Linked DNA regions of Homo sapiens: regions 1, 2, 4, 5, 6 and 7 are each linked to region 3. Evidence: promoter capture Hi-C in 16 types of primary human blood cells and fetal thymus (Javierre and others, 2016). All regions are on one chromosome and are shown on one strand. Each heading gives the region's core, a stretch centred on a gene start or on the middle of the fragment in contact. The rest is flanking DNA. Distances are from core to core; before and after follow the strand shown.

Region 1 (3,993 bases), core at 360-2,859, 460 kb before region 3:
GGAACTACGTTTTGGCCAATCCCTGACCCCTTAGAATTTCTTAGGGTCTGGGTGTAAGTGAAAATGTTGGGCTTGACCTTTGGGAAGTATCTTTAAAGGAAGGAGCATGTTTCACTGCTTCCCTATCTGCCAGACATTGCCTGGAATTCAAACCTGATGGTAGGAGCTCTTGCAGTCATCCTGGGCCATGAGAATTATTTGCAAGGAAATTGGTACCCTGAAAACTGTGTGGAACTGCCATACCGGCCCTGACCTGCTTACATCCAGAATTATTATTATGTGTTGGAGAAATAAGCTTCTATCTTGTTTAAACCACTATTATTTTGGAGTTTTCTATTAAAATGTGCTGTTTCCCATTTTTGCCTTCTAAAGGTGAGAAAATTAGTCCCATGGTTCTATATGAGTGTCATAGAGAAAAGATTGCATTCTTCCATGGCTCCTCCTGGGAAGTGAGTCACATCAGTTTCCTGGGAAGAACTGGGCTCTTCCATTCCCTCCCAGTTTGAAGCAGGAACGAGGAGGCCACAGCTAAGGATACAGATGTTGTGGTCCAGCTGAGCTAGACCAGCCTCCCCAGATGCATCCCTCCCTTTCAGCTCTCATCTCCCATGGAGCACAGGAAGGAAACTGTGTTGGGGGCAAGGGGTGCAGAGGGGAGCCGGATTAATTCCACTTATGGTTGGATCTCCAGGGGTGGAGGAGACAGAAAGTCTAGCAGAGCTTTCAGCAGACAGACAGTGGACCTCCAGCTGGCCCCTCGGGCCTTGGACTCTTCTATGAGTCAAAGAACACTTGGCTGCTTCTCCAAAGATCCTCCTCTGCCTCCAGCTTCCTTCATCTGAAAGAGCAAGGTCTCGAGTCTATAGCCCAAGAGATCCTAAGGGACAGGATTGGCCCCTACTTTGGGTGTAATGAGGTGGGGGTGGGAGGGCGTGGGGTGAGAATGGAGGTGGAGTTGGAAACTGACATCTGTGATTTTACTCTCTTACTTTCCAGCTCTAGCTTCAGGTCAGGAAAGCTCTGGGGAGTCCAGTTCTCCCAGATGATGAATTCAATGCTCCAGATGACATCATGCACCTGAATCATTTCCGTATCTTTCTTCCAGGAGCCTGCAGAATTCCCTGGAACCCATATTCACCAAGCACTTACTACATGTCAGGGCTCATGTATACATGTGTGATCTTATTCATTTCTCACAACGGGCTTGAGAGGTTGGCATTGGTCCCACTTTAGTGATGAGAATCATGAGCACAGAGAGGTTGGGTAACTTACCTCAGGTCACCCAGCCAGTAGGTGGCTGAGCTGGAACTTGAACACTAGTTATATGATGCCAGACCATGCTTTTTGCATTAGACATTGCCGGGGTCCCGTGCTGGGGAAGGCCTATGCTGAGGTCACAGGGGGCAGTATATTAGTCCATTTTCACACTGCTATGAAGAAATATCTGAGACTGGGTAATTTATAAAGAAAAAGAGGTTTAATGGACTCAAGAGTTCCACATGACTGGGGAGGCCTCACAATCATGGCAGAAGGGGAAGGAGGAGCAAAGTCACGTCTTGCGTGGCAGCAGACAAGAGAGCGTGTGCAGGGGAACTGCCCTTTATAAAACCATCAGATATCGTGAGACTTACTCACTATCACGAGAACAGCATGGGAAAAACCCACCCCCATGATTCATTTACCTCTCACTGGGTCCCTCCCACAACACGTGGGGCTTATGGGGGCTACAATTCAAGATGAGATTTGGGTGGGGATACAGCCAAACCATATCAGGCAGTTTGCAGGTGATCCCACACCCGGATCAGATTGTAAAGGAGGGGCCCAATTCCCCCTTTCCAGGCCTCCTGCCTCTCATTCCCTCGTAGCACCTCCCTTTTTTCCTCATTTTTACTTCTGGTTGTCTGCACTGGAAAGATTTTCAGTGACAATAGATTTGTGATTCAACCAATAATAGTATTAATAATCTCTTATAGAGACGTATGATTTCAGACTCCTTTCATATACTTTGTGCTGGAAACACCGCTGTGAGGCAGATGAATGAGGTGAGGGAGACTCAGAGAAGCTGAAGAACTTGTCCAGGCCCACACAGCTAGCAAGGTTAGAGGTCAGAACCAGAACTCAGGCTCCTGGTTCCTTATGCTGCATGGAGTCTGACTTCTGATCTCAGTCCTCTTAGCACTTTTTTTTTTGAGACAGAGTCTTGCTCTGTCATCCAGGCTGGAGTGCAGTGGCACGAGCTCAGCTCACTGCAGCCTCAAACTCCTGGGCTCAAGGAATCCTTCTGCCTCAGCCTCTCAAGTAGCTGAGACCACAGGGGTGCACCACCATGCCTGGCTAATTTTTTTATCTGCAGAGCTGAAGTCTTACCATGCTCCCCAGTCTGATCGTAAGCTCCTAGGCTCAAGCAATCTTCCTGATTCAGCTTCCCAAAGTCTTGGGATTACAGAACCACCTTGCTTGGCCACTTAGCACTTTCTGAATGACATCTACCTTGTTCCAGGCCCTGTGCTGGGTACTGGGAGAGATTCTGAGGCTTAAGACACAGTCTCAGCCTTTGAGGAGCTGAAAATTCAGCAGTAAAAGAAAGAAAAGCCAAGGAATCACACGGAGACAGTAAAGCAGCAATTGGCAGGGGTCTCAGAAGAGTCCCTTGGAGGTATCACTTCTCCTAGGGATGTCTGCATCTCCCCAGAGACCAAAATTATCAATAACCATGTGCCACAGTCATGCTGCTTGCCATATCCAAATACCATCTCTATTAGTCTATTCTTGTGCTGCTAATAAAGACATACCCAAGACTAGGTCATTTATTAAGGAAAGAGGTTTAATGGACTCAGAGTTCCACATGGCTGGGAAGGTGTCACGATCATGATGGAAAATGAAGGAAGAGCAAAGGGACATCTTACCTGGCAGCAGGCAAGAGAAAGCTTGTGTAGGGGAACTCCCCTTTATAAAACCGTCAGCTCTCGTGAGATTCACTATCACGAGAACAGCATGGGAAAGATCTGCCGCCATGATTCAATTACTTCCCACTGAGTCCCTCCCACGACATGTGGGAGTTACGGGAGCTACAATTCAAGATGAGAGTTGGGTGGGGGCACAGGTGAACCATATCGCCATCTGTAGTATTACTTATTTACCGTAGTCCCCCTTATTTATCGAGGATATGTTCCAAGACCCCCCGTGGATGCCTGAAATCATGGATAGTACCAAACCCTATATAGTCTGTTTTTTTCCATAACTACATACCTGTGATAAAGTTTAATTTATAAATTAGGCACAGTAAGGGACTAACAACAATAAGTAATAAAATAGAACAGACCAGGTTCAGTGGCTCATGCCTGTAATCTCAGCATTTTGAGAGACTGAGGTGGGAGGATCACTTGAGGCCAGGAGTTTGAGACCAGCCTGGGCAACATAACAAGACCCTGTCTCTATTAAAAAAAAAAAAAAAAAAAAGACCAAGCGAGATGGCTCAAGCCTGTAATCCCAGCACTTTGGGAGGCCAAGATGGGTGGATCATTTGAGGTCAGGCACTCGAGACCAGCCTGGCCAACCCTGGCCGACAGGGTTTTACCTGACCAACAGGTAAAACCCTGTCTCTACTAAAAATACAAAAATTAGCCGAGTATGGTGGCGTGCACCTGTAATTCCAGCTGCTCAGGAGGCTGAGGCAGGAGAATCGCTTAAACCCAGGAGGCAGAGGTTGCAGTGAGCTGAGATAGCACCACTGCACTCCAGCCTGGGTGACAGAGAGAAACTCCGTCTCAAAAAAAAATAGAACAAGGAGAACAATATATTGTAATGAAAGTTATGTGAATGTGGTCCATCTCTCTATTTCTCTTTCAAAATGTCTTACTGTACTGTACTACAGGTAACAGAAACCATGGAAAGTAAAACTGGATAAGGGGGACTACTATATTTGTTTAAGCTAATTGATTCTTTTTTACTTAAAAATATTTTTAAAGGAAACTTTGTATCACTACCTTAAAT
Region 2 (3,632 bases), core at 69-2,568, 420 kb before region 3:
GGAAGCTGTATTTCTAGAATTATTTGTACAAGCAAAAAGATTTATACAGAGTGTTCAGTGTAGTAGTTGTAATGTCATAGCCTAAGTGTCCAGCAATAGGAGAAAGGTTAAGTATTGACAGTTACACCGTGGAACATTATACATGGCAATAGAAGTTTCAAAAGGATGGCTGGAGGGGCAGTGTCTGGATTGAAGGCATTTGGGCTGGTTCACTGCATTTAATGTGAATTTGTTACCAATATTTAAAAATCTGGAGATTGCACATTTCAAAAATTCAGATTTCTTGCTTTTCTTGAAAACTCAAATTTGGCAACTCTGGGCCAACATTTCCAAATGGCAGTAGTTAGTTTGTGGTTGGGTAACATCTGATGCCATTGGATGGAACATCTCCAGTTTTCTGCAGTTCCTACTGGATCCATTTAACTCATTTATGTTATCTGCCTAACCCCTGTAGGCATTTGAGTTGTGATCCTGGTGTTAAAAGAATGGGACAGATTTGCAAGGAAGTCCATTTGATACTCTGTTAGTTAAAAACAAGCTGGGGAAAAAAAACACAACAAGCTGCAGAGCAATATGCATAATACGGACTCATTTCCATAAAACAACACTGGCTGGGCGCAATGGCTCACGCCTATAATCCCAGCACTTTGGGAGGCTGAGGAGGGCAGATCACTTGAGGTCAGGAGTTTGAGACCAGCCTGGTCAAAATGGCGAAACTAAAATACTATAATAAAATTTTTAGTTCCACTAAAAATACAAAAATTAGCCAGGTGTGGTTGTGGGTACCTGTAGTCCCAGCTACTCGGGAGGCTGAACTTGGGAAGTAGAGGTTGCAGTGAGCAGTGCCATTGGGCCACTGCACTTTAGCCTGGGCAACAGTGGGTGAGACTCTGTCTCACAAAAACAAAACAAAATTATATGTACACGCATAGGGAAACAGTATAGAAGTATAATACCAAGCACAGCAAGCAGAGGGACATCCTCTAATTTTGTTGACATGTTTATGCTTACATATTGTTTCCGGTTTTTAACCTAAAAAGTCTCCCAGGTGATCCAGATTTTCTGCCATGTTTAGGAACTAGTGGTCCAAAGCAGGGCCTCTTGTGCAGTGTCTGTGTGGGTGGAGGGAGCACTAAGAATCTGCATGTTTAACAAATAGCCTGTGGGCTTTGAACAGGTGATTTGAAACCACATTTTGGTTAACACTGGGCAGAGGTAGGTTCTGAGGGAAAGGTCTCTATTCTTTGATATCTCTTTGAGAGCGATCTTTGCCTTAGGTCTTCCAGAGAGGGGAAAAAAGTAAGACCTCAGAAAGTCGGCATTTTACACTGACCTAAAAGCTGTATGACTCAGAAGAGCCTGACTCACTCAGGCTCAGTCTTTCTATTATTTCTTAAAGCATCTAAGACCCCACGCTTTCTCAGTGAAGTGGCTTGTAGCTACCAATTACGAGCAATTGTCTCCTCCAAAGGCACCAATTCTAACAGCAATTCACTTGGGTACAATTGTGTGGTTTGGAGTAAGAGCAGCAGTGAGGCAAGGAACTTAAATCTGTTCCTGGCTCCAAAAATGCTTTATGATACTTGTCCTTTGTCCATCTTAGTCTCTGTGTCTAAAATTAGCACCAACATCCTTCCCAGGCATGACTGAGTTGGATGAAGGTTATAAGGGTAGAAGCTCTCTTTCTGGTCAGCTCTTACAGTGCCTAGAACAGAACTGCAGGAATGCATACTTTTTAGAATCTTTATGACCCCAATTAAGTAAACCCTATTAAGGCTCATCTTCTTATTTCCCCTCTCTCCGTTTCCCTATTTGAGGAGGGGTAAGTATCAGAAAGAGAGAACCTGAACTGAACAGGAGGAAACAGAAGTTCCACATCAACTCACTACCTGTCAGCCTTGGTATCAGGGGTGCCCACCTCCCACCCCTGCCTTGCTGGCGGAACCGAGAAACTCGGAAAAAAACAAACAAAAAAACAACTGTTGTAGCTTGGAGAGAATTAATAGAACTAGGATTCCATGGATGTGAAAGTCTTCCTCAATATGCTAAATAAACCAAGTTAGATAACAGTGCAGTTTGTAAAGACACTTTTTTCCCACGGTTTCTATCTTCCAGTTTGGGCAGAGGGCAGGAAAGGCACAATTCTTGGAACTTGAATAAGGAACAGAAATTCCTAATTTAGCCTCAGAAGAGACATCTCTGAAAAATACTCTACCAGGAAAAACTGAAGTGTAAAATGATACCTCAAAGAAATCAATGCTGGAACCCATAGGATCATATGTTTCATGGATGTGCTTCAAAACTATTTCTCAAAGCAATCTGTTGCATCAGTCTTTGGGCTAATGAAGGCTGCCAGTCACAGTTCCATCATGGAATGACTGGCATACTCTGTAATGATCTATAATACTACAACTACATCAGAACTGCTCTGCCATACAGATAGTACCAGATGGTGATGTGATTATTGTAAAGGCCTCACACTATCCACCTGTCCTTGCAAAAACTCCCTTAGCAGACATGCACCTAGTTGACATGAAAGAACAATTTTGAAATGTGATTTGGAAGTGTTTTATATCTGGCCTACTTTGCTTTGAATTATTCTTTCATTTGCCAAAGAGCTCTTGCAAGGTACTGCACAATGGCTAGGCAATTATTATTATTAATAGTAAAAACTGCAATTGCTTTTGCACCAACTTAAAGAGCTAAAGTCTAAGCTTCCAGTCTCCCAGCATCCCTCACACGATGGAGGGCAGCACTTGAGTCTAATCATGCTTGAGATGGTGATTGCCTGATATGTATATTAAATACTATGCTGAAGAGACGGATCCTTTCAATAGTGTTTTTTTCAAGCATGTTACATTTAGAATTAAGACCTGCCTAGAAAATAAGCTACTTAGTGCTGAAGAAACAAAAACTTGACAAGATTCCTAAGTTATCATTTATATGTAATATTCTTCCTACAACACTGGGTTTGGAAGGATAATAAATACATAAAAATAAAATTCTGCAGTTAATATGAAAAAGAGGTAATGCAGTGTTGAATAATGAGAAACTGCTAATTGCGGTAGCTAACTCCAAGCCACTTTTTTTGGACTGCTCGGCCCATCATGGGGCATTCCTTACTTTGGAAGTAGATAAGAGCAAGTTGGAAGGCCAGAGTCAGGCAAGGCTGGCCAAATCCCACTTCTGCAGGCTGCTGCTTGAATCATCCTGGCCTGATAGATTCCCACATGCAGCACACTGCGATTCCCACACGCTTGGATCCGGTTGCCTGGACTATATCCGATGCTTCTGGGTAAGACTGAGTGCTCTGTAACTAATGGGCCTGGGGTGAAAATGATCCAAGGGTTGGAAACATCCTAAGCCATGTGATAACCTCTTTTTTTTCTTTATATCCCCCACAAGTTCTGATACAATACATTTAGAAAGGAACTCACTGAAGATTTGCTGAATGAAGAGAGGGATGGAAGGAAAAAGGAAGGAAGGAAGGGTTTATTTGATGCAGATTCTTCAGCATTTTGTTTTCACAGACTCCCTTCTTTTCCCCTCTTCTGGACCCACCTTTTTGCCATCTCACCGTTGATGAGCAGCTTCAGCTTAGAGGGTAAAGACAGGCATGATCGCGACTGGCC
Region 3 (4,075 bases), core at 1,289-3,788:
ACTGTATTAATTAGGACTTTTCTAATTGCAAGTAATAGGAAACCCAAATTCAAACTGCCTTGGGTAAGACATAATTTACTGATTCCTATAGCTAAAACCTGCAGAGGTCAGGATGATGTCAGGCATGACTGAATTCAGGAACTCAGGCAATGTCATTGGAACTTGATCTGTCTTTCCCTCCGTGGCTTGGCTCTACTTTTCCTCCCATTAGCTTCACTCTCAGTAGTTCCCTTTCACGTGGGGCTTCTGGCAGCTTCTCTTTCCAGCAGATCCACAAAATTCCCAGTCTTGTGAGATTTTCTTGGGATATGTGACGATCTCTCAATCAGCCCATTGACTAGGGCTGGGCGTGTTAATCAGGACTTTTCTAGTTGTGATAGGAAACTTAAATTCAAACTGCCTTAGGCTGAGTCACTTGTCTGTCCCTAAGAGCCAGTGGTAAATCAGCTCCATCCAGCATCCAATGTCTGCATAAAGGACCCAGTTTATGGCTTCTCCCTCTAGCCACTCCCAGAGGCAGTGACTACGTAGAGGGGCCTAGTAGGGAGTATGTGGCGGAAGGGAGGCCTTGAAGCTGTGTTCTTATAGCGTCCTATATGAAACTGAAAAGCATCAATAGCAAATAACAGAGAAGATCTAATGGAGATTATAGAGAGGTAGAGGGGACTAAAGGCCTCCCAAGTCACCCCTTGGTGCCACCCCTGTAACATATTTAATTTGTGGGGGAAGCAAAGGCCCAGTAGGACTGCTGGTGGCCCAGCCACAGTCCAAAACAGGCCCTAGAGAGGACGCGCTCTAACCACACACCCTAATTATTAGTCCCTGAATATAGATCAGTTTAGTTTATCCAAAGCCCCAGCTGAAGACACATCAAGTACTATTGCCTCTGTTCCATGTTTTGTTCCATATAAACATCCAGACACAGGTCTCATGGGAGAAACATCATGAGGCAGTTTCACAGTCCCTGGCTTTGATCTTTACGCTGTAGTAAAGGTGTCATTGGCCTTTCTGGGGCGAAGAGTCATGCTCTTCCACAAGAGTATCAAATTACTGCTCATTTTCCAATGTATATTCTTTCAGGGCCTTGCTTTCTTCTTACCTGCCCACACCAATGCTGTGAGGGAGACTGCTGATGGCGAAGGTGAAAATGGTCAGGCAATGTCATTGGGACTTGGTCTGTCTCTCCTTCCATTAGCCCACTTCTTTTATCCAGAAAGATTTCACTGCACTGGGGAAATAAGGAGAATAAAGTCTCATGCACTCACTCACATGAGAGAGACATGCATGTTCGGGTTTGCTCAATGGCACCCATCTGTCTCAAGTCTTGTTGTTTCTTTCACTCTGAGCATCTGCACTCCAAGAAGGCATGAACTTTTTCTTTCACTTCCTTTCTTCTATGGGTGATGACCTGACATCACTCTCAGAAGGAGGCCGAAAGTCGCTGAGTATAAAAATCGTCACTCCTATCTGGCTTAGGCAGAAGGTAGGGGGCTCGATGGGTACCCAGGAGCTCTGGAGGTAGGAGATGCCATCTAGGGAACCCCGTTCTACCTGAGGGCTCTGTGTCTCTGCCTTTGTATACTGGAGGGCACCATGGATGTCGCCTTCCCTCTGGAGTCCCCTTCACCATTTCCTCTCTAGAAGGATGGAAGGTGGGAGTGGGGTTGGCTATTGAAGCTGGAACGGGGAAGAAGGCCACTTGGGGTCTGCTGAGGGCTGGGTCTGCTCACTGCTGTGTCCGGAGTGGAAAGGAGAAGCCCGCTGGAGCAGGGTACAAGCCCAAGGGTCAAACTGCGCCAGCAGTAGAGCAAGCCGCGGTCTCAGGCTGCAGCCCTAGCAGAGGTCAGGCTGGTGCAGCCAGCCGTCTCGGGGCCTAAGGGCGCTGGCGGGGGCCGGTGGGTAGGGGTAGGAGTCCCCAAATGCCTTCATCTCAGCCCATCCTTCTCCACCGAAAAATAAAGCAGGCTGGCGAGATCGCCTCCTCACCCGCTCAGTCCTGAAGTGTCCAAGGATGAAACTGTGCGGAAATTCTCCCTGTCGCTCTCAGTTTGTGGGGGAAGCGCCGGGACTGAGGTACATGGTTAACACAGGCTGTGCGTGAAGGGGCTTTTGACTTTTCCCCCGGCTCCGGCCTCTCGCGTCTCTCTCCTAGGGCTGCGGCTGCTGCTGCCTGGCGGGCACAAGCCGGGCGGCGGTGCGCGGGGGGTGCGCTTACATAACCGCTCGCCGCGTCCTGCTTTCTCGAGCGCTCCTGCACCGTGGGGTGGCGGAGCCGGGGGACTGCATGGAACCCGGGACGCCCCCGCGGGGAGAGGAGCGCGAGCGGCCGCGGGAGGAGGGCGCCCAAGGCGGCGGGGGAGGTTAAGGTCAGTGGGTGTGAAGCGCCGGCTCCACACCCCCTCCTCCCCGGTCCCCTCCTTCCCTTCCTCTCCGTCCCCCTCTGACGTCTGGAGCTGGCAGCTCGGCCGGTTCCGCATTCCCGACCCCTCCCCGCCGCCCAGGGGCCGCTATATAGCCGGGGCTGATGCAACCCGTCCCGCCGCCCGCCACAGCCTGCGGGAGGGACGCTCGGCGGCCGCGACGGGGGGCGCTGGCGGCGGCGGACGCTGCAGCGGCGGCGGGGCTGGCGCCGCGGCGGCTCCCGGGCCGGGACAGGCCTGGGCACCGGGCGGAGCTCCGCGGCCGGGCGGCAGCGGCGCGGAGCGGGCACGGCGCCTGCAGCCGGGCCCCGGCCCCGGGGGCGCCGCCTCCCCCCGCACCTTCTGCACGGTGGGTGCGAGGGCGCGCGCTGGGGGCGCCGGGACGGGCGGGGCGGGGCAGGGCGCGGCGCGGGCACCTGGGACGGCCGCCCCCGCACGGGCGGAGCGCGAGGAGCCCCAGCCCAGCCCCGCGGGGAGGCTCCCGCAGCCCAGGGACCTCGAGCTTTCCCCGCGCCGGGCGCTGCAGCCGGGCCCCTCCCGCGAGGCGCCCGGCAGCCTGAGGCTTCCTTTTGGTTCCCGCCCCGGGACGGGAGGCTCCGTCCGCTCCCTGGACAGCCGGGGTGCTCCCTCCTTCTCCCTCCCGCGCTCTCCTCCCCCGTCCGTTTGCAGGGAGGTGCTCTCCTCGGGCGGCGGGGAAGGCGGGGTGAGTGGGGAGAAAAGTGCCCGCGGAGATGGGCTGTGCGGGTGGAGGTGGAGGGTGAAGGGCCAGGGAGGTGCGGGGTTGGGGTCGGGGTTAGATTGTGGAGGGATGACAAGGACCTCCTGGCAGTGAGGAAGCGCGACTCCCGGAGGACCCGGACCCGGAGGAGAGTATTGAGAAGGGCTCGGGATTTCCATCCAATGAAGGCAGCTTCTCTCATGGCCATTGCTTCGGAGCTCTGGGCTGGGAGGGGATCTAGGGGTGGCCGGGGTCCCCTTTGGGCTCTCCTGTCTCCCACGCCAGGTTATATAAGGAGGCAAGCAGGCTCCTGTAGGTAACCAGCCTCTCCCTTGCCCAGCCCAGCTTAGAAGGCTCTCCTCTGCTCCTCCCTTCAAAGGAGGTTGTCGAGGGGTAGGGGTGCAGTGGGGGGTGGGAGAGTGTAGGGGTGGATTGGGCCTTCCACCTGGATCCCTGGACCCTGGGATGGCAGAGCCAGGCTTTGCCTGGGTCAGTAGGAGGAGCAGGGAAGATGAGGAGGCTGGGGAAGATGGGGAGGTCCTGGCTCTTTTGCAGGGATGGAGAGGCTGGTGGAAGGAGAAATCAGCCGACCCCCTTGGGTCATCTCCAGTTGCAAGATGGCGTGGCCCTTGCCCAGGGTGCTGCCCTCCCTGTTGGAATCCAGGGCATGGGGCTATGGCCCGACCACGTGTGCTCAGGGCAAATGTGCTCAGGTCTATATCTCAGAAAGGGCTTGCAGCCTGCTTAGGCGTGTGTACCCAGGCTTAAATCTTGGTGGTCTCTCCCTAGGGTCTTAATTGGAGGAGCATCAGGAATTGGGAAGCTTTGAACCATGTTTGGGTACATTTGTACCCAAACGTCCTTTAAGCCCTTGGTAGAAACTGCATTCGCGTATCATCTCCCTTCCCCCCAACCTTCCTTCCCTGAGGGTTTTAAA
Region 4 (3,829 bases), core at 814-3,313, 380 kb before region 3:
TGGAGAAACCAATTAATTTATCTGTTTTCCTACTATCATTGGAAACGTGTCTATACCAGGGGAAAGAGGGGGATGTATCAGATAATATGCAATCTGTTTGTGATTTTTTGCTACCTTCCTGAAAAGCAGAAAACATTGTATAAGTTGCTGTAGGTTCATTCTCTAGCCCATAACTTATATTCGTTCTGCAATTTTTTTTGTTGGGCAATTGACCAGATTCTTTACTTAAAGTGCTGGCTAAATCTTTGATGTCTGGAGTTTCAACTGAATGACGTGTTCTATTTCCAAATGTTTCTTGGGCACGTGTGGGACCAGGTCTAACATAATTTTTAAATGAATGTTCTGTTTCAGTTGATTTAGTTTTTTCATTTTGTACTACATGAGTTATAAAGCCAGTGGAACATAATTTAACTCGCCCATAACTAAAAACATTTCTTCTTCCACAATTGCTAGATTCTTTTTTTTTCTCTTTCTCTGTCTGAGCACTATGTACTCCCCATAATGTTGTTGCAAAAGGCAGAGGCTGGCATCCCACTTCAGTAGCATCTTTAAATCTCTTTGGTTGATTCTGAATTCTATTATTTTTCAAGATGTTGGCAGCCATGCCATTAACAGTAGTACTTTCTTTCCATATTTCTAGATCCTGCCCACTCTCCTCAAAGTGACATGGTGTCTGAAAAGGGCTTAAAAACATTTCTAAACTGGTTCCACACGGATTTTCTAAAGAGCTATGTTCCAGGAAAGATTTTTTATGTTTCTCATTTTCTCCAGCTTCTGATGCTACAATTGTCTCTTGTTCTAACATCTTTGATTCTGAGCAAGAGCTGTCTTTGTTTTGTAAAGATGGCTCTGTCATTTTGCTATGGCCTGGACCACCTGATTCATAAATGTACAAAAATGCATCATTTGTATTTTTTCTGGTAGCTTCTGAATCCCTAGAACTCTGTGTGTTTACGTTTTCTGCAGTAGTTTTTCTTTTCACAGCTTTTGACTGCAAATTAAACATCTCATAGGAATCTAAAATATTATTACATGCTTCCTGGAAATTGCTCCTCTCATCGGAAGTCACACGCTTCTGAAGAGTAGCATCAAATAAACTAAAACCATTATCTTCACTAAATTCCTTAATATCCTCACCTGATAATTCCACAAATAATTTTTCTTGCTTTAAAAACATTTTCACTCCTTCCTGAATGCAAAACAAGAGAGTGTCCCAGTTCTGAAATTCAATCAGAGTTTTGGCTGGCTCCATGCACACATCATACTCACAGAATTGGCACTGCACATTAATTACATATATGCCATAGAGTTCTGGGGTAGACCGGTGCCGAAGACTTGAATTCATTTGCCTACTGGTGGGACCATTCTTTGGCTTGCATATAATACTTTCTTTCCTTAATAAAAAGTCAATGAGTTTATGTAGCTTTGTCCTTAAAACTAGTCTTTTGTTCACAAACAAAAACTGCATATTCTTGTTGTAATGTGCTTCAGAGCTGATATAGCCACTAAGCTCAAACTCTTTATATTTAAAACTTATTTCTCTTAGCTTTTGGGACTTTCCCAATCCATAAATTTGACAAAATCGGGAACATACGTCTTTGGTTTTAGGGAGCTGAAGAACCATGGAACCAGAAACATCATTTCTCAAAGAGAAAGAAATGGAAGGGTGCATGAGTGAGAGAGCTTCTATTCTCTGCCTAACCTTCTCAAACTCCAGTCTAGGGTCCATGCATTTCCTCCTTACAGGAAGCTGGTAAAATAGGTTATACACTGTTACAGTAGTCCCAGCGCTTGCTCTAGTCACATCAGCTTCACAAGCTTTCAGGGCTTTTCCACTCTGAAACAGTTTCACAAAAGTTTTCATTGTCCTGTTTTTCTTGGACGAAATTTCCACAGCACTGGCCATGTCAGCAATATTTGCCAAGGCCTCTCCTCGGAAACCATAAAACCTTGGATTCTCCAAGTCCTGTACCGAGTGGCATTTACTGGTGAAATAACGATTTCCCACTTTCTCTACATCATCACTCCCCATCCCAAATCCATTGTCTATCACTTGAACTTGGAAGGTTTCCATATTCACCCTGACAGCCACACATTTTGCTTCAGCATCAATACTGTTGAGGGCAAGTTCCTCAACACATTGGCCCAAGGAGCTTATGGCCAAACCAGAACGCAATTTGGCTTGTACTTCAACTGACAAGCACTTGATCATGGTAGGTAGAAAGATGGTGAGAATGCCAGGCACTGGTTTCCTTCTCTGACTGGAAATAATTGCCTATTGGAGAAAAAAACCACACACGCACATAATCAAAGCTTTAGCATTACACAGCATTATGAAGAAATAGCACTTGAGGTAAATGAAATCACTCTTATTAAACCAAATTGTGAAACAAAGCAAAACAAAGTTATACCGCTGATCTCTAGGCACAGCTCATGCTTGGTGCAATGGATTAACATCCAAAAAAAATTCATAATTTCATAATTTTCAATGCTCCTTTCTAAATCCCACATGTCCTAAAGTGAAATCATAATTACACTTGAAGTTGACCAGTAAACACAGTATTCGAAATTCTAACCACTTCACCAAAAACAGATGCCTAAATTAAATACAGCTAAGGAACATTAGCTAGAAATTATTCATGACAAAAATGTCCAAGCTAGTTTCATAACATTTATACATTACACAATAACCATGACTTTTAGAAAAATACTTATAATGAATTGCTAAGACATTGTAATAAGGTGAAGCAATAGGAAGAAATTTTAAGAATCAAATTGTATCAAAGAGAGATTGGGGGCATTAAGAGGTTATTATTATTATGGTTAAGTATAGTCACCTCAGGGAAAGAGGCTGGGAATGGGAAAAGATAAAGCAGGAAAATTCCTTTTCATATAAACCTTTCTTTGCCATTTGATTGTTAAATCCTGTTCATGTATTACTCTGATGTTTTTAGAAAGTCGTTATTATTCTTTTTTGAAACAGTCTCACTCTGTCACCCAGGCTGGAGTGCAATGACACAATCTCGGCTCACTGCAGCCTGCACCTCCCGGGCTCAAGCAATCCTCCAGCCTTAGCCTCCCGAGTAGCTGGGATTACAGGCGCTCGCCACCATGCCTGGCTAATTTTTGTCTCTTATGTAGAGATGGGGTTTCACCATGTTAACCAGCCTGGTCTCGAACTCCTGAACTCAAGTGATCCTCCCGCCTTGGCCTCCCAAAGTGCTGGGATTACAGGTGTGAACCACCGCGCCCGGCCAGAAGGTCATTATTAATATTCTTTTGGTCTTTACAGATGGGCATAAACTACCTTGGTAATAATAATGATGGCATGGGGCTGCCTGAACTTGATTTTAAGTTTTCCTGCAAGTGAAAACACAAAAACAAAAAACAAAACAAAAAAAACCAAACCCTAAGATTCCAGTGCCATTAAAGGTCTCCCCTTCTTCTCCATCAGTGAGAGCCACGTGGGTGGGCCCCTGCAGGCGGTGGGGCCGGTTTTCCAAACTCGGGACAAATCAGGGCTCTTAACTGCAGAATTTCTGCTGCTTTCTAAGCTAATGCACTAAGCAGCCGGCAGCAACTGACGGGTAAACGTTTAACAAGTATTCCGATTAATGTAAACCCAATGATTTCCTGATGACGCCTCCCAGCGCCTGGGACTGACGGGACGCACGGGCCTGGATCCAGGGCACGGGGGCCTGGGAGGGCCGCGCGGGCCGAGTCCGGGGCAGCGCTGCCTTCCCGCCAGGCCCAGCCCCTCCCTGGCCAGCCCCGTCCTTGTCCCCAAACTGGGCCCGCCCGGCCGCCAGGCCGCCGGGCCTCCGGGGCC
Region 5 (3,843 bases), core at 131-2,630, 360 kb before region 3:
TCTGCTAGTTCCCCGCTAGAGTGAGGATCCATATCCTAGAGAATCATACAACCTTAGTGCTGAGAGGTGGGGGGTTGGTGGTGAACAAGCTGGATTGAATGTTGTACTTGGCAATATTTGAAAATAACTCTAAATAGAGTATCTTGCTAATGGTATTTCTTTCTCTAAAATTCATTTAAAAAATAGTTTATAGAATTCAAAACTTACTGAGTGTCTAATACGAATGGGGCACTCTAGGATATACAAAGATGAATGATATAAAATCTTTGCCCTCAAAGAGTTTTTAATTTAGTGTAGGGGCACAAATGCATGCAAATAATGACAATAAAATATATGGCATGATAATTTAATTCCATGAAAATCCATTGAGAGCTCATCAGGAACCAGCCCTGTGCTATAACAAGGACAGAAAATATTACAAAGGAGCAAACAAATTAATTCTGATTGGGAAGACAGGGAAAGAGTTCTTGGAGGAAACAGCATTTAATCCAAGGTCACACAACCAGTAAGTGATGGAGCTGGGATTTGGTTCCAGAGTCAATCCCCATGAATGCTATGCTCTACCAGCTCCCAGTATGTGGAGCTTAGAGTAATGTAGTACCATGGAGATGAAGAAGTACAAGTAGCCAGTTGTGGCTAGACCAGGGGTTTGCTACCCTGCTTGTGCATCAGGATCTTTGGGGAAGCTTTAAAAATGTTAATCCTCAGGCCTCACCCCTAGATATTGCTTTCCAAGTAGTCTTAACACACAGTCAGGGATGAGACTCACTGGGTTGAACTCTGTGGCTTATTAAGGGGAGGCAAAACTGAAAAGGTAGGCTGGACCTAATCTGGGAGGTAGAGATGCCATGCTAAATTATGCATTTCAACTTTATTCTATAGGTAAAGAAGAAGCTACTGGGGAGGGAAATGGTAGGATCAGAAGCATTTAGTAATTAGCTTGATTTAATCACTGCACAATGCATACATTATCAAAACATCACTTTGTACACTGCAAATATAGATATAATTTTTGCTTGTCAATTATATTTTAATAAAGCTGGGGGGGGGTGGAGAAATATTTAGACTGATTATTTTGCCTGCAGCATGAAGGATGGGTTTGAAGAGCAGATATTGAAGGCAAGAGCAGAAGTTAGGAGGGCTATGCCATCCCAAGGAGAAGTGAGGAAAAACTCACCTGGGGCAGCAGAAATGTAAAGGAAGAGTCATATATGAGAGACATTGCAGAAGTAAACTCAATAGGCCAGGCGTGATGGCTCACGTTTGTAATCCCAGCACTTTGGGAGGCTAAGGCAGGTGGATCACCTGAGGTCAGGAGTTTGAGACTGATGAAACCCCATCTCTACTAAAAATACAGAAATTAGTTGGGCGTGGTGGTGCACACCTGTACTTCCAGCTACTAGGGAGGCCAAGGCAGGAGGATTGCTTGAACCTGAGAGGCAGAGGTTGCAGTGAGCTGAGATCGCGCCACTCCACCCCCATCTGGATGACAGAGCAAGACTGTCTCAAAGAAAAAAAGGAAGAAAACTCAATAAAACTTGTGATTAGTTAGAAGGAAGAGGCAACAAAGAGGGAAGCATGGAAGACTGATGCTGTGAGCATGCAAGGGCACACTGGAGAGGCAGATTTGAGAATGGGAGAGGATCAGAGTTTATGTTGTCTTACAGAATTTGAGGTTCCTAAGGAACAATCTTGTGGAGGTGTCAAATGGGCAGTCCTGAAATTTGAGTCTGTAACTAATGAGAAAGACTAAAGCTAAGCTGGCTGTCATTTAAACACAGGTGAAACCTGAAATTTCAGCATTTGGTTGAAATCATTAAAGAAGAGAATGTCTGGAACTACACACACACACACACACACACACACACACACACACACACACACATATATATGAAATAAGAGGGCTTCAGAAAACACTTAAATTTAGGGAGTAGATGGGGAAAAGATAAATGCCAGACTTGGAAGAAGATGGAGCAAGAACATGAAAGAAGAAACCAAGAGGGCACAGGAGAACTGAGAAGAGCATTCTAAGTGGGTGGATAATCAGTAATGTCACATGAGTAGGCTGAAAAAATGAAGCTTTTGTCTTTGGAAAGTCACTGGTAGCTTTGTAGTTAAATAAAGTGGAGAAAGTAGAAGACAGGCCACAATGAACTGGACAATGACGGGGAGATGAGGATATGTGGGCAGCAAATGTGGAGATTTCCATTAAGAAGTCTTGTGGAGAAGAGGAGAAATGAATGGGACTGTAATATGAAAGTTAGGTCAAGGGAAGTAAGGTTTGTTTTGCAGGGGAAAGTTGAGTATATGTTAAAACCAAAGAGACAGAGTTTATGGAGAGGTATAACTTGAAGTTAACAAGATGCAGACAGGGTGCCGTCTCTCACGTCTATAATCTCAGTACTTTGTGAGACTGAGGCGGGAGGATCTCTTTTGACTCCAGGGGTTTGAGACCAGCCTGGGTAACAAAGGGAGACCCTGTCTCTACAGAAAAAAAAAAAAGAAGTAAGCTGGGTGTGGGGGGCACACACCTGTAGTCCCAGCTACTCGGGAGGCTGAGGTGGGAGGATCACTTGAGCTGTGGAAGTTGAGGCTCCAGTGAGCAGTGATTGTGCCACTGCACTTCAGCCTGGGCAACAGAGTGAGGCCCTGTCTCAAAAACAAAGGCCAGGCCCGGTGGCTCATGCTTGTAATCCCAGCACTTTGGGAGGCTGAGACAGGCGGATCACCTGGGGTCAGGAGTTCAAGACCAGCCTGGCCAACATGGTGAAACTCTGTCTCTACTAAAAATACAAAAAATTAGCCAGGTGTAGTGGCAGACGCCTGTAATCTCAGCTACTCGGGAGGCTGAGGCAGGAGAATCACTTGAACCCAGGAGGCAGAGGTGGCAGTGAGCTAAGAGTGCGCCACTGCACTTCAGCCTGGGCAACAAAACAGGGCGAGATTCCGTCTCAAAAAACAAAAAACAAACAACTTTAAAAAACCCCAAAAACCAACAAAACAGAAAACAAAACAAAACAAAAATGCAGGGGTAAAGTGATGGAGTCAATTCCCGGAGGGTACTGAAAAGGACTAATTCAAGAGAACTCAATGGAACTCAATGGAAAGTCGCCCTTCTTTCTCATAGAGGAGAGGGAAGGAGAGAGAGAGAGGAGAGAGGGAGACAGACAGAGACAGAAACAGAGGAGAGAGGGAGAGGAGGAAGAAGAGAGAGAGACAGAGAGAGAGAGAAAGAGAAAAAGAAAGCCGGTAAATTCTGCTGAGGGAAGCTGTGGGAGTTGATAATCGGGACCCTGAGTGGAGTGGGAAACGTCTGGAGCTGCATATACGGAGAGGCGGTAGAGTCAACTAGGGATGAAAACGAGGAATTAAAAAAAAAAAAAAGACTGATCTGGAGGGTCCACCAAGGAATTTCCTTGTAACGGGTAACAGCTGTAATATGACATGTTGAAGTATTAACACTGATGACTGCTGTCTACATTATTTTCCATGTGCATGAATTGAGTAGTTACAGGGAAAAAGCGAACTGCCTGTTCCAAACGGCTTACACAGATGAACTGAAGCGAAGAAGAAAAATGAACTTTCTTTTGATGTCAACAAGATAGAGTATCATTTACTGTTGAAGCCAGGTTATACTGATTATTTTCGATCTGGTAGTTAACTTTATCATCATTACATTTGGCTGAGTCATTCCTGGGCCCTAAGTAGAGACGGCTAGAATTACCACGTGAGTAAAACATTATAATATCAAAATAATTAGATTGGCCACAAAAACTACCACGGAAAGATACTGCGTAGCAAAAACGTTGGCAGCAAGTTCCAAAGCCTTGGCGAGGACAAGCA
Region 6 (4,018 bases), core at 194-2,693, 330 kb before region 3:
ATCAATAAAAATATGTACCTGAATACATTAATGAAATAATACTAGATTTTCAGGGGAAATCGGGATGATATACATATAAAGAAAACCTAATACCTGATAGAATAAAAGAGGCTCAGCTACTAAGGCATGTGATACAGTTGTAAATCAACTTACCATCAATAGCAGCTGTGTGAGTCTTGCCTGGGGCAATGGTACGGATCTTATAAAAGGACAACTGTTTGGCCAAGGTAAAGGACGTTGTGTAGGGAACTTCATGGTATGCCTGAAACAAAATAAAACACAAAGCAGATGCATGAGGTAAGAAAATCGAAGGAAAATCAGGCTGAGAATGGAAAAAAGTCCTGGTGACCAAAAGGCCTTTCAAGTAAGTTATATTACTAAGAAGAGGGTGCCAGGTAGTTTTCCATCTCCAACAGAAAACAAGAGGAAATAAGCTGAATATGTAATCAGAGAATGCAGCACATGAGGCAGAACTTTCTGACAACCAAAGTTTTAGATTCTGACTTAGGGTTTATAAAACATGAACTTTCCATCCCAGAAGGTATTTATATAAGGAGAGAATCGTTGACATTTACCTTGGTTATACACTCTGCATATCTAACAAGGGCAGGGCAAAGAATTAAAGTCCTGAGGACTGTCTCCAGCCCATAAAGGAATCAGCTTACTGTGATCTAATTTCATCTATAGGGTAGTGTTTCTCAACTTAATTAAAACTCATGTTCCCTTTGAATTAGTATTAAAAAAGAATCCTCTCATTTAAGTTTAAAATTTCACAACAAATCCACTGCTATAATGAAAACATAAATCAAGTAATAGTAATTCTGAATATTGTTTTTTTTGTTTTTTTATTTTGTTTTGTTTTGAGACGGAGTCTTGCTTTGTCGCCCAGGCTGGAGTGCAGTGGCGCGGTCTCGGCTCACTGCAAGCCCCGCCTCCCAGGTTCACGCCATTCTCCTGCCTCAGCCTCCCAAGTAGCTGGGACTACCGGTGCCCGCCACCACACCTGGCTGTTTTTTTTTTTGGTATTTTTAGTGGAGACAGGGTTTCACCGTGTTAGCCAGGATGGTCTTGATCTCATGACCTCGTGATCCGCCCGCCTCAGCCTCCCAAAGTTCCGGGATTACAGGCGTGAGCCACCGTGCCCGGCAACTGAATATTTCTTTTCAAACTACAAAGACACTCTCTCCAGCCTTGCCCTGAATTTGTACTCTCCTAATTGAAAATCACTACTTTAGAGATTGCTTAAAAATTAATTCTTACCTTTTTCATTGAGTCAGAAAACTTCTGTCTCTTAATTTTATTCTTTGGAAAATGACAAAACTCATTATATTAACACAAAAAGGAAACTAAGACGCAGCCATAAAAAAGGATGAGTTCATGTCCTTTGTAGGGATATGGATGAATCTGGAAACCATCATTCTCAGTAAACTATTGCAAGGACAAAAAATCAAACACCGCATGTTCTCACTCATAGGTGGGAATTGAACAATGAGAACACCTGGACACAGGAAGGGGAACATCACACACCGGGGCCTGTCATAGGGTGGGGGAAGGGGGGAGGGATAGCATTAGGCGATATACCTAATGTAAATGACGAGTTAATGGGTACAGCACACCAACATGGCGTATGTATACATATGTAACAAACCTGCACGTTGTGCACATGTACCCTAGAACTTAAAAGTATAATAAAAAAAAAAAAAAGGAAACTAAGACAATATCAGTGGTGAATTTGCTAACATTTTTGAAGACAGAATGGTAATTACATTCGATAAGCCTAAACAGGATCAGTGATTTGGGAGAAATCTAAAAAACTCCAATCAATCAAAAAAACTCCAGGAAGGTGATGCATGGAAATATGTTTTTTTTTATAACATTAATTTGCTTGTTCCTATTTCAATAAGGTAAAAGCTGAATTTCATCATTTTATTCTTTGTAATCAATTTATTTGTTGAAGTATAACACACTGCAAAATATCACACAGCTTGACACATTTTTCTATATACATATACTGGTAAAACCATTACAGATCAAGATATAGACCATTCCCATTACTCTAGGATCCCTTCCACCTCTTCTGTTAATACCCCTCCTTCAATAAGTAGCCACAGTTTTGATTTCTGCCAGTATAAGTTAATTTTGCCTGTTCTTAAATTTTACACAGATAGAGCTATATAGCATGTACTCTTTGTGGCTGGCTTCTTTTTCTGCACACAATGCCTATGAGACCATAACTAAAGTCAAATTCCATGGTCACTAACCAATAATGGCATCTCAAAGAAATTCCAACCTAGAGAAATTCTGATGATGTGGTTAGAACACCAATCAGGACACTCACTTCATGGTTGATAATTCCCGACATGCACTGATTCAGACCCAGCTTATTGAATTCATTGAGTCCACAGGCCAGCACTTTGCCTGACTGGGTCAACAGAAATGTCCCATCACAGCCACATTGAACTGCAACAATAATCAAGGCCTTGGGAACATCCACCTGCAAGAAAAAAATCAGAAAAAGAAATCCCAAATATATAATTCGTATTAGAAAAAAAGCTCTCAAATTCTTTCAAAAGAGACATGCTGCATTTAGCAGAATGACTACAGGAAAGTGAGGACTGCTCTATTCTTTTCAGGTTTGCCCAGTGTCTTAGAGACTACTTTTTCTTTTTTTTTTTTTTTGAGATAGAGTTTCCCTCTTTTGCCCAGGCTGGAGTGAAGTCGTGCGATCTTAGCTCACCGCAATCTCTGCCTCCCAGGTTCAAGCGACTTCTCCTGTCTCAGCCTCCCAAATAGCTGGGATGACAGGTGCATGCCACCACGCCCAGCTAATTTTTGTATTTTTATTAGAGATGAGGTTTTGCCACGTAGGCCAGGCTGGTCTCGAACTCCTGACCTCAGGTGATCTACCCACCTTGGCCTCCCAAAGTGCTGGGATTACAGGTGTGAGCCATCACGCCTGGCTGAGACTACTATTTTCTTTTCTTCTTTTTTTTTTTGAGGTGGAGTCTTGCTCTGTCGCCCAGGCTGGAATGCAGTGGTATGATCTCAGCACACTGCAACCTCTGCCTCCCAGGTTCAAAGCGATTCTCCTGCCTCAGCCTCTTGAGTAGCTGGGATTAAAGGCGTGTGCCACCATGCCCAGTTAATTTTTGTGTTTTTAGTAGAGACAGGGTTTCACCATGTTGGCCAGGCTGGTCTCGAACTCCTGACCTCAAGTGATTTGCCCGCCTCGGCCTCCCAAAGTGCTGGGATTACAGGCGTGAGCCATTGTGCTCGGTCAAGGCTACTGTTGTCAACGAAGAGCTCAAGTTTTACAATATCAAAGAAAAGGTGACAGTTCCAGGTCAACTAAACAAGACAGCACCCTCTCAGTTTGTCTTAGTAATAGGTCCTACTTAGGGTGACCTGTCAAAAAGTTGAGAAAGAAGCTTCAATTCATTGCTGATTTTGTCCTTTGAGATGGAAGGCTGCTTGACAGTTACAGAAATTCAGTAGCCCTGTGGGGTCCCAATCTGGTCATTTTATAGGAGAGGTGACAGAGTACTGAGGTAATATCTAGGACTTCCAAATGCTCATATCTTTTTACAGCTAACTAGACAGGACTGGAGAAGGTGGGGTGATGCATGTGTGGGGTCACAATGGATGTGTGTAAAACCTGAAACCTCAACCCTCAGTTTCTGCCACAGCCTTTCCAGGAGAAAAGGAACAGCTGGGAATCCCATTGAGGATGGTCCCTAGAAATGCATAATAATTTAATTTTTAAAATATAAATAAAAACTGGTTTGGCTAAAAGTTCCCAAGGAAAGAAAAAAAAAAAAGAAAACAGAAAACCCAAAACACTGCTAACAATAAATGGTATAGCTGATTTAGCCAACCCTCCAATGGGTAAGCCTGTGCCCTAGGGTAGGTGGGAGAGATGTGACTGTGCTTTTCCCCCAGCTGGTATCAGCCTCTGTGAGCCTCTCACAGGGCCAGCTCTGGCAAGGCTGAGAGTAATTAGATAATATGTTTCATGCAA
Region 7 (4,082 bases), core at 1,255-3,754, 340 kb before region 3:
TAGCTGGGACTACAGGCACCTGCCACAACACCCAGCTAATTTTTTTGTATTTTTAGTAGAGACGGGATTTCACTGTGTTAGCCAGGATGGTCTCGATCTCCTGACCTCGTGATCCGCCCGCCTCGGCCTCCCAAAGTGCTGGGATTACAGGCGTGAGCCACTGCGTCTGGCCCGAGACAGTATTTCTTAACAGCAATGTATGTAATGCAGCACAGCACCTTCTGGCCAATGTTTGCTTTCATTATCAATTTATCACTCTCCACAGCTACACAGGTGGTAACAGAGATGTGACATAGTGGAGTTTTTCTCCCTAATGTTCATCATTCTGTGAGGTTTAATGATCAGCGTGTTTATTTCCACAGTTAATCATTGAAACAATAAATGATTTTTGGCTTTGCAGCAGTTAGGAACATGTTTTATAGTCCTGATTATAGCCCACTCTGCCCTGACCATCATGAATACTTTTTTGGAGGTTTAGGGATTTCATGTGAATGAATTTATTTAAAATGTATTCTTGCCCCTGAATTGTTCTATTATGAATGTTTGTGAACATATGGCAAGTGAAATGAAATTTTTTAGTGTACTTTTGCTTTAAACTTCAGTGAAATGCTCAGCCAAGAGAAGTTGTAACTTGGCTGTGCTATGCCAGGGAGACCAAATTCAGTTCAATCTCTTTGAAGGAAAAGTTTTACAAACCATAAACTGGCATTATCACTTGGAAAGGCCCCCACTGAGACTGAGGAGGTAGGTACAAGAAAGGATCATCCTTCTTTTAGTGGCTCATTTTTTCCCTCCCTCTGCACTTTCGGCACTTTTAGACATTTTTGGGAAAAAAGCTGTAGCAGCAGCAATGATTCTGCTGGCAAGAATAAGAAACTGGAGAGAAGCAAAGAATATTTCTGTGCAGATGTCCCTTGCATTGTTTCTGTTCCAAGAACATTATTTATATAAAGACTCACAGAATCAAAGATTCACGGAGGCTTAGAATCTGGATGTTTTATCCCCAGAGACTAAGGTCCATGCACAGGCTTACTGAAGCACAGTACTGATTAAGAGCTTAAATGTTTATTTAAAACAGAAATGCCAAACCACTCCACTCTCAACCTTTCAAGCAACCTGGCTAACAATAAACTAGTTCTTCTGCAACAATGTTAGAGCAGAGGAGTAACTCAGGTTATACTGTAACTCAAAAGCAATACTACTAGAAAACTTAAAACACCTAGCACTGCATAAAGAAAAAAAGCAGGACAAAATTTAAAGAGAATTAGCTACAGAAAACCATTCAAAGGCATTTCTACTGCCTCATCTTTTACTCCATCCCCCTTTGAACTGGTTTCTGTTTGCATACTTGTTTGGTGGGAAAAAAAATCATATGGCTGTCCCAGGCACAATATGGGAAAGTGCAAACTGTCTCTAAGGCACAGAACTTAGATTCTCAGCCAGATTAATAGCAAATCTAGACTTCCCAAGGGAATATGCTAGAGAAAATGACCACAGCGTTCCACTGCTAGGGAAAGGCTCCCCTATGAACAAGACCAGGGCACTCACCCACCCCCGGCACTCACTTTCACCCCACCTTCTCAGCAACCTGCCCATGTCCATCAGCTCCATGGCAGAAGCAATCCTCATGATGAACACCCAAACTGACCCAGCCTCTCAGGCCTGCTGAGATGATGAGCATGAGGATACAGGGACATGACAGGTCAATCGGTCCTCAAGAAAATCAAAGTTGCATTTACATGCTGAACCAAAACCCACTGTTACAGTTTATGACAACCCCCGCAAGTCCCCAGAACTTGCAACTTTAATCAAAGTTTGGCTGCTTCCCTTATTTCAAGAAAAGGTTTCAGTGATTACATTAGTACTAATGTACTAGGCTTCCCAGAACTGAGAAAACAATGGGAACATCAAACCAAAGAAGATCCCATTGAACAGAGTTGCCTGTCCCGAGCAATGGGGTTCTCCCCAAGCATCAGCCTTTATGCCACCAGTTTTGGAGAAATGGCAAAATTTCCATTGCACAAGACCTCCCACAATGTTGATAAGATTATCAAACATTTTGGTCTGGGGAAGATGAAACAAAATTAATTTAGCTGTTTATAGGAAGGTGGGATGTGAGACTCATCAAAGGTAGGATGTGTGACACAAAATACCACAGGAACATTTTACAAGGCTAGGTGGAAATACAAAGCTCACATCCTTAAGGAAACCATCAAATACTTGCCTAGAACTTTCTATATGAAGTTTTGTTCTTCTATGACACTATTTCTCTTTGGTAAAGCTAGCTTGTTTCTATCTACAAAGACACAGTGAGTACAGGATTAGAAGTGAGCTCTCAGCCAAATTCCTTTTGCAAGTTCTACCTGTTCTGTTAGGCTTCAGGGACTCCCAGGGTTTGGTGCTGGCTTTGGGCCACTCAGGTAGGAAAAATGATACAGATTCATTCGTTACCACATGGCTTCATAAAACACCAAAAGGGGAAAAATACTGACTAGACATTCAGAAAGAAAGTGGTTGGGGCTGCTGATATCAAGATCAGAACCCTAAGAGCCATGAAGGCAGAGGCTCAAAGAAGTCTTTTCATGGGCAGAAGACTGAGAGCCCTCTAAGCCCTCTCTAAGATACCAAGTAGAGGCAGCTAAAGGAGGACCTCTTCTCCTTCATGATTTTCTCTTAAGGCTATTCTGACTGCCCCATGGACTCAATTCTCTGAGACACCTCATCCCTCAGAGACACCTCATCCCCTCATCCACAGTTAGGAAATCCCACCCTGCATTGGTCACAGCCTGAAACACCAGCTGTGTGATGAGGAGGGTCCTGCCCTTTCTCTATTCCTCACTGAAGAAATTTCAATCAACCCTCAGAGGAAAAGCAACCTAAGCCTACCTTTCCTCCTAAAGCATTTAGCTGCACAGAGTAACTGAACTTTTTCGAAACAAGCCCTAGATTGACTCCATCAGACATATTTTCCTGGACTCAGGGCTCCCAAGAGGGCCAGACTACTTCACCACTCTGCAGAGGACACTGGGCGGGCCACACCTGATTCCAGCCCACTCCAACTTTACACTTCTCCCTCTCCCACCCAGAGGGGTAATGCCTGGTACTGAATTCCCAAGGCAGCTTCCAATCAATGGTGAAAATGATACATGGGATATAAGCTGCTACCAGCGCAATTAAGGTGAGCACTGTGTCTCCTCTTCAAAGGTGGGATCAACAGATGAGGTACAGAGCTGCTGTTGCTATGGCAGTCACTGATGACAAAGCCAGGGCCATGGGGGCCCTTCCATTCTCCAAAACAATAAAATCACTCCTAGATCCTATCTAAAAGGCAATGCCACTCTCCAAATGTACAAGGAAAGTGCTTCAGAGCCTCTGCCTTGCGCTCCTTTTCTGCAAGTGAACAAAGCCAGGAAAGCTGCTCTCTGCATTCGGTAAGTGTGCTGTGAAGTTCTTTGGGTCCCAGTCTCCTGGGGGCTCTACAGGCTCAGGAGACTAGAGGCTGGGTCTACAGGAGTCTGTTCCCAGGAGGCACCAGGAATCTGAATCTAAGTCAGGCTTTGGATCCATTTCCATCTCTTCCTTTGCTGTCTGAGTTCCTTTGGAATGCATCCCCACCTGTCCGGATAAAACACGGTTCCACATTAGCAACAGTGCCACCTAGTCACAGAAGTAGTTCAGTACTATATTTTCAATGCCAACTTCTAAGGCATTGGCTAAGGCGTGGCTAAGGATTTGTAGCCACGATCTTGTGAGACGCTCATGGCACTATTTTAGATACAGTCCATACCTTTATATTTACTGCAGGTAGGGTGACCAACTATCCAGGTTTGTCCAGGACTGCGGGGTTTCCTGGGATGCAGAACTCTTAGTTTTAAAATGGAAAAAGTCCTGGGCAAAACAATCTTCTCCCTGCTATAGCTGCCAATCTTACCTTGTGTGTGTGTGTGTTTTTGAGACAGGGTCTTGCTCTGTTGCTTACGCCGAAGTGCAGTGGTGTGATCACGGATCACTGCAGCCTTGACCTCCCCAGATTCAGGTGATCTTCCCACCTCAGCCTCCTGAATAACTGGGACTATAGGCGT

Evidence for each region. The method cuts DNA at HindIII sites, captures the fragments that hold promoters and counts their contacts. A CHiCAGO score of 5 or more calls a contact.
Region 1: a contact is called between a fragment that was not itself captured here and the fragment with the promoter of JDP2 in region 3, in 1 of 17 cell types (monocytes). The highest score is 5.4, in monocytes.
Region 2: a fragment that was not itself captured here is called in contact with the fragment with the promoter of JDP2 in region 3 in 1 of 17 cell types (monocytes); the score reaches 5.8 in monocytes.
Region 4: a fragment that was not itself captured here is called in contact with the fragment with the promoter of JDP2 in region 3 in 1 of 17 cell types (monocytes); the score reaches 6.5 in monocytes.
Region 5: a fragment that was not itself captured here is called in contact with the fragment with the promoter of JDP2 in region 3 in 1 of 17 cell types (monocytes); the score reaches 5.8 in monocytes.
Region 6: a fragment that was not itself captured here is called in contact with the fragment with the promoter of JDP2 in region 3 in 2 of 17 cell types (monocytes and neutrophils); the score reaches 6.8 in monocytes.
Region 7: a contact is called between a fragment that was not itself captured here and the fragment with the promoter of JDP2 in region 3, in 1 of 17 cell types (monocytes). The highest score is 5.9, in monocytes.

The regions. Positions count from the first base shown.
Region 1 is chr14:74,964,816-74,968,808 of GRCh38, forward strand. No RefSeq gene overlaps it. Among named protein-coding and RNA genes, the nearest start is that of PGF, 11 kb to the left of the region's middle. RefSeq lists an enhancer at 420-1,619. The HindIII fragment of the contact is 2,632 bases long and covers 294-2,925 here.
Region 2 is chr14:75,010,298-75,013,929 of GRCh38, forward strand. EIF2B2 (eukaryotic translation initiation factor 2B subunit beta) reads left to right here. Exons shown (of 8, transcript NM_014239.4): 8 at 1-2,069. It overlaps MLH3 (mutL homolog 3), which reads right to left. Exons shown (of 13, transcript NM_001040108.2): 13 at 3,478-3,632. Among named protein-coding and RNA genes, the nearest start is that of EIF2B2, 9.2 kb to the left of the region's middle. The HindIII fragment of the contact is 2,787 bases long and covers 1-2,712 here.
Region 3 is chr14:75,425,484-75,429,558 of GRCh38, forward strand. JDP2 (Jun dimerization protein 2) reads left to right here and starts at 2,539. Exons shown (of 4, transcript NM_001135048.2): 1 at 2,539-2,769. It overlaps JDP2-AS1 (JDP2 antisense RNA 1), which reads right to left and starts at 2,172. Exons shown (of 2, transcript NR_184172.1): 1 at 1,987-2,172; 2 at 1-1,228. RefSeq lists enhancers at 1,308-1,407, 1,658-1,987, 2,008-2,067, 2,035-2,592 and silencers at 2,258-2,527, 2,778-2,957, 3,018-3,187. The HindIII fragment of the contact is 6,934 bases long and covers 1-3,959 here.
Region 4 is chr14:75,047,444-75,051,272 of GRCh38, forward strand. It overlaps MLH3 (mutL homolog 3), which reads right to left. Exons shown (of 13, transcript NM_001040108.2): 2 at 1-2,275. The coding sequence starts at 2,212. Among named protein-coding and RNA genes, the nearest start is that of MLH3, 2.1 kb to the right of the region's middle. RefSeq lists a silencer at 3,637-3,826. The HindIII fragment of the contact is 495 bases long and covers 1,817-2,311 here.
Region 5 is chr14:75,065,343-75,069,185 of GRCh38, forward strand. It overlaps a transcript of ACYP1 not described here. Among named protein-coding and RNA genes, the nearest start is that of ZC2HC1C, 2.4 kb to the right of the region's middle. The HindIII fragment of the contact is 1,393 bases long and covers 685-2,077 here.
Region 6 is chr14:75,101,504-75,105,521 of GRCh38, forward strand. NEK9 (NIMA related kinase 9) reads right to left here. Exons shown (of 22, transcript NM_033116.6): 14 at 2,339-2,494; 15 at 154-262. Among named protein-coding and RNA genes, the nearest start is that of NEK9, 24 kb to the right of the region's middle. The HindIII fragment of the contact is 3,965 bases long and covers 1-3,426 here.
Region 7 is chr14:75,081,072-75,085,153 of GRCh38, forward strand. It overlaps NEK9 (NIMA related kinase 9), which reads right to left. Exons shown (of 22, transcript NM_033116.6): 22 at 1-3,615. The coding sequence ends at 3,493. Among named protein-coding and RNA genes, the nearest start is that of ZC2HC1C, 13 kb to the left of the region's middle. The HindIII fragment of the contact is 8,341 bases long and covers 1-4,082 here.